2 separate regions of the Homo sapiens genome follow, and region 1 is linked to region 2. The links are contacts of gene promoters, found by promoter capture Hi-C in blood cells and fetal thymus (Javierre and others, 2016). All regions are on one chromosome and are shown on one strand. Each heading gives the region's core, a stretch centred on a gene start or on the middle of the fragment in contact. The rest is flanking DNA. Distances are from core to core; before and after follow the strand shown.

What was found. The method cuts DNA at HindIII sites, captures the fragments that hold promoters and counts their contacts. A CHiCAGO score of 5 or more calls a contact.
Region 1: a contact is called between a fragment that was not itself captured here and the fragment with the promoter of COG3 in region 2, in 1 of 17 cell types (total CD8 T cells). The highest score is 6.0, in total CD8 T cells.

Annotation. Positions count from the first base shown.
Region 1 is chr13:46,296,162-46,299,089 of GRCh38, reverse strand. LINC00563 (long intergenic non-protein coding RNA 563) reads left to right here and starts at 1,246. Exons shown (of 1, transcript NR_047493.1): 1 at 1,246-2,645. All of the region lies in intron 2 of LOC105370194 (a long non-coding RNA gene), which reads left to right. RefSeq lists an enhancer at 1,459-2,658. The HindIII fragment of the contact is 4,337 bases long and covers 1-2,928 here.
Region 2 is chr13:45,463,668-45,466,542 of GRCh38, reverse strand. COG3 (component of oligomeric golgi complex 3) reads right to left here and starts at 1,604. Exons shown (of 23, transcript NM_031431.4): 1 at 1,333-1,604. The coding sequence starts at 1,506. The HindIII fragment of the contact is 5,472 bases long and covers 1-2,875 here.

The DNA of each region.
Region 1 (2,928 bases), core at 73-2,572, 830 kb before region 2:
TGACAGGACTTTGTAAGTTATTGGAAGTGGAGTGTGGCTATGAAAACATAAAACACTTGAACCATTCAACTTAATCCATATCCTGTATGTGTGTGTGTGTGTGTGTTGGAGGAGGTGGGTATGCTCTCAGCAATAAGAAATCTATTTGCCTGGGGGTAAACAATGCTACTGTCATTGACTTCATAATAGCTGTAGTTTCTGCTTTGCTTTTTGAGATAAAGCAGTCCTGACTGGGCCATGAGGCTATTGAGGTAAAAACTTTGTTGTACTTACTAATAGAAAGAAGAATGCACTACTAATTAGAGAAATGCGAATCAAAACAACAATGAGATGTCATCTCACACTGGTCAGATTGGCTATTATCAATAAGTCAAAAAATAACAGATGCTGGTGAGGTTGCAGAGAAAAGGGAATTCTTATATACTCTTGGTGGGAGTGTTAATTAGTTCAACCATTGTGGAAACCAGTGTGGTGATTGCTCAAAGAGCTAAAAACAGAGCTACAATTTGACCCAGCAATTCCATTACTGGGTATATACCCAAAGGAATACAAATTGTTCTACCAGCATTTGTTCGGTTAGGTTGCAGTAACAAACAATTCCAAAATCTCAGGGACAATGACAAAGGATTATTTTTTGCTTACAATATATGTCAGCTAGGGTTGACTATAGCTCTGCTCTACATGTCTTCTTCATTCTGGTTTACAGGCTGAAAGATTCACCCCTACCTAGGACACCCCCTTCCTTCCCCTCCCTGCCCCCACATTTTTTAAGAGAAGAAAAAAAGCCATGGCTGAACTATGCAATGATTTTTGTTGTTGTTGTTGTTGTTGAGATGGAGTCTTGCTCTGTCGCCCAGGCTGGAGTGCAGTAGCGCACTCTTGGATCACTGCAACCCCCACCCCCTGGGTTCAAGCAATTCTTCTGCCTCAGTCTCCCTAGTAGCTGGGACTACAGGCGTGCGCTACCACACCCAGTTAATTTTTGTATTTTTAGTAGAGAGAGGGTTTCACCGTGTTGGCCAGGCTGGTCTTGAACTCCTGACCTCAAGTGATCTGCCCGCCTTGGCCTCCCAAAGTGCTGGGATTACAGGCGTGAATGACTTCCAAAACTTCTGCTGAGACATGGTATAAGCCATCTGCTCACATTCCATTAACCAAGGCAAGTCCCTGGACCCAAGTCTGATGTCAATAGTGGGAAGAAATGTATTCCACAGGAAGGCCCATGGCAGTAGACCTGGATGTATAATTTTCTTGCAGGGAGAGTGTAAATAATCTGGAAGAAATACTGCAGTCTATCACAGATCCCAAAGATAGTTTCATCATTTGTATTTTTACAAATACTTACTGGATACTATTCCTTTCTGTGAGGCAAGAACAACCAGCTGTCATTCTCTAAAAATTTTCAGATATTAAGCACATATTCACCTCTGAACTTTAATGTTTTTTCTACATCAGCATTATTCAGAATCTCATCCAGGAACTATTTGCTAACAATCTGCAATGAGATAAGAAGATTATGCCAGGAAGTAAATCAACACACTGCTTCCTTCACCACGAAAGCCTTGCTACAAAAAATCAAATGGCAGCAGTACTGAACAGTGCACTTACTGATGTAGTTGGTTAACATTTTGGCTTAAGCTCCTTATCTTGTCATGGACAGGTACCGAATACTCTGGACTGACAGAGGTCGACAAACTATGCTCTGAGTGGCACTGTTCTGCAGCAAAGTGGTTTTACCCATAAGACCATTCAATTATAGAATTTTAGAACTGAAAGATGTCTTAGACACCATCTAGTCCAAGTTCCTGGTTTCACAGCCGAGGATCCTTAGAACCTGAAAGTTTTAGCAAACTTCCCAAAGCCACTTAGTGGTTGTGATGCAATATGAAGTAAAGGCCAACTGTCCTGACTCTTTCCAATCACCACCATGCCCTGAAATTCCTGAAGGAAGCAGAATTTCCTCTGAGGTTTCTGCTGAGTCATATGCAGGCTCCATCTGATGTAGAGATTCAGTAGAAGGGGCCAGGTTGCCTCCTGATGGGGGCAGCGTGTGGAGGATGAGCCTGGGCTTACTTGGCAGACAGATCTGGTCATGTTCCAGCTCTATCTCCTACTTGCAGAATGTCTTCGGGAAAATTACCTACATTCTCAAAGCCTCAGATTCTTGCTTTGTCAACATTCCTTGAAGATTGCTAAACTGAAGACTCTGGTGTTCCCTTTTGTGATAGGGAGAATAATAGCCCCCCAAAGATATCTACATCCTAATCCTTGGAACCTGTGACTATGTTATGTCACATGGCAATGGGAGACTTGAGGTTCCAGACTGAATTAAGGTTGATAATCAGCTGACCTTGAGATGGTGAGACTATCTGGGATCATCTGGGTGGGTCCAATGTCATCACAATGTTCCTTATAAGAGAGAGGCAGGAGAGAAAGAATCAGAAAGGCGGCAGCATGAGGAAGGCTCAGCCTGACATTGCTGGCTTAGAAGATGGAGGAGTGAGGCCATGAGCGAAGGAATGCAGGAAGCCTCTAGAAGCTGGAACACACCCCTGCTGACACCTGGACTTGTACCTAGTGAAACCCATTTCAGACTTCAGACCTCCAAAACTGTGCAGTAATAAAGCTGTTTTGTTTTAAGCCACTGATTTGTGGTAATTTGTTAGAGCAGCAATAGGAAAGGAATTCACCATTCATCTGAACATTGCTATTGCCTCCCTAGAGCAACTGTTACATCATCTTTTGGAAGATACAGCTTTTTTGAAGACACGTTTTATAGTGGTATTATTTGGCAGAATCTGCTCTAACACAAGCTAGCCAAGGCAGGAAGTCTGCTTCTTTAGAGGGCATAGTTTCTCTCTTGCTGTTTCTCAATCCTTTTTAGCTGTTTTAGTCATAGCTGGTCAAAAACAATGGTTTGCATTTAGG
Region 2 (2,875 bases), core at 355-2,854:
TTCAGATCCACTTCCGGTACCATATCCTAGAGGTGGAAAAAGAAACCCAAGAAAGAACGCCTATTTGATGGCTGAGCATACAACAGTGAATGTGAAGAGAACGTTTAAATCAAATCTCTAAAGTTGGAGGACAGAAAAAGTTGAAGACTCTAAACTCAATCTGCATTTGGACACAATTCCAAATCGTATAAAAAGAATGCTTCAGGCCAGGCACGGTGGCTCACGACTGTAATCCCAGCATTTTCGGAGGCCGAGGCGGGCAGATCACTTGAGGTCAGGAGTTCGAGAACAGCCTGGACAACAGGGCGAAACCCCATCTCTACTAAAAATACAAAAAATTAGCCGGGTGTAGTGGCAGGCACCTGTGATCCCAGCTACTCGGGAGGCTGAGACAGGAGAATCGCTTGAACCCGGGAGGTGGAGGTTGCAGTGAGCCGAGGTCACGCCACTGCACTCCAGCCTGGGCGACAGAGCGAGAGAAAAGAATGCTTCCAACATCAAAAGTAACCATCACCACTGCTTATATAAAATAATCCTCCTAAACCTGGCCCTCAAAACTGGAAAACGTTTGTCAAACATCTGACAATTCATGTTACTTCCTGCTATTACAACTAATTGAATTGAATCACACAAGAAGCAGTAGTGCATAATATCCTAATGGTAAGTGGATTAAACACATTGACTCTAACACCGAAAACCAGCACTGCTTAATAATGTACTGAGCCAACTTTCAAATAAAATTCATTTTTATTGCTTTGCAATAGGTGAAATAAATCTGATCTCCCATAACTTGCACTTGATTGAGAGCTCATAGTTCAATGTGCGATAAATGAAACTCACTCAGGACCAAGTTTTGGTCTCCCCAAGACCCCCATGGACAAAGCAACCTAGGTGAATCATTAAGGCGGTAAACGAGCACGCGCTGGAGACTGTCCTGCAGCACAGCACCTCGGGTTGACTGCCTCTCCTTCTGGGAGAGAGTGGGCAGCAGGATTACGCCTCGGCTGACAGGACGCCTCGTCTGGGGCAAAACGTTCGGTGCAAGGCTCCGGGCCAACCGTCCCATGCTGCTGGGGGAGGACTGGGTTCCGGCGAGCACCAGCTGCAGGACACCCCCACAGCCGTCCCCAGGCAGAATTAGAGTCGGGGTCGCAGGCAGAGCGAAGCCTGACAGCCTGGGAGATGAGGCCCCTCCCACCGGATCCGCCACCATGGCCAGGGAGGAGTGGAGAGATATCCTGGGCAGAGGCTAGTGAGGCCGGGGTCCTGCCGGGGCGCCCGAGGAGAATCCCAGCCCCATCGCCCCGGCCCGGTTCCTGCCCATCACCTCACCTCAGCTGGCACCGGCAAGTTCTCTGCCGCCGCCTTCAGCTCCAATACCGAGTCCGTCTGCCTGTCGGTCAGCGGCGCCGTCGTGTCCGGTCTCCGATCCCAGAGAGCCAGCTTTTCCCTAGCGTCCCGCTCCGCCGCCGCCTCAGGCAGCAGCAACAGCGCCGCCTCCGCCATCGCCGCCGCCCTCGCGGCCTTCAGCAGCAGCGAGATGGAGGGGACCCCGACAGAGAGACCTGGGCCACTTCCGGGAGAACCGGAGCTTCCAACACTGCACCGGCGGCGGGGCGGGACGGAATGCCCTGACCCCGGAAACGGTTCCGCAGTGTGGGGGGCGGGACCGAGGCCAGTACCGACGTGGCTTTAAATGGGTACGACTATTTCCGGTTGAAACGTAGAAGGTGGAGAAGACAGGACCCAATGGAAATAGAAATGCCCCTACCGGAAGTCTTTTCCTCAACATCAATAACTTTATTGTTACGTGTTGTACAGATTATTGACAACTGCGCTAAATCACCCTGCCGGCAGGAGACTTGGATCTACACCTCTCTGCTTACAGCTGGGTAGTCTGGGTAGAATGTGTGGAGTGTATGATTTCCATGTTGGCATGTTGACAATTTATGCCTCTTGGATCAAAACCAAAAGCATAAACTTTTCCAACATCCAGTAATTCCCCTACTAGAAAACTAATTTACGGAAACACATAAAAAATTCAAAGATGTGTGTATCTCAGACATCATTAATGGTATCAAATAACTGGAGACAACCTAAATGTCCAACATTGAAGAACTGGATCAAGAATTTGTGGCACAGACCAGGCGCGGGGGCTCAGGCCTGTAATCTCAGCACTTTGGGAGACCGAGGTGGGCGTATCACCTGAGGTCAGGAGTTTGAGACCAGACTGGCCAACATGGTTGAACCCCGTCTCTACTAAAAGCACAAAAATTAGCCAGGCGTGGTGGCACATGCCAGTAATCAGCCTGAGAGGCTGAGGCAGGAGAATCTCCTGAACCTGGAAGGTGGACGTTGCAGTGAGCAGAGATCTTGCCACTGCATTCCGGCCTGGGCATCAAGTGAGACTGTCTCAAAATGTATAATAATAATAATTTGTGGTACAGACATGTAATTCTACTCTACCATTTAAATCATATTGTAGATTTGAGCAACAAAATAAATAATGATAGTATTGGATCATAATTTACAGAATAAAATAAATACCCATGAGTCCATACTGCTATAAATAAACGATTGAATAAATAAATGGTGGAGAACAGACAATCTTCTACAAGTTATGGAGGCCTCTTCCTGCTCCTCCCTGGAGTCAAGGCAGGTGGAAACAGCTTCGTAGCAATTTTGACCATTGTCTGGGTAAAGTCTGAAGGCTTTATTCAGGCTTTATAGCACAAATCAGTGCCTGGCTATGTTCCCAAATGAAGGCTCTGATCTTTTAAGAGCAGAATTTGAGACCGGGCGCAGTGGCTCACACCTGTAATCCCAGCACTCTGGGAAGCCGAGGTGGGCGGATTACCTGAGGTCGGGAGTTCGA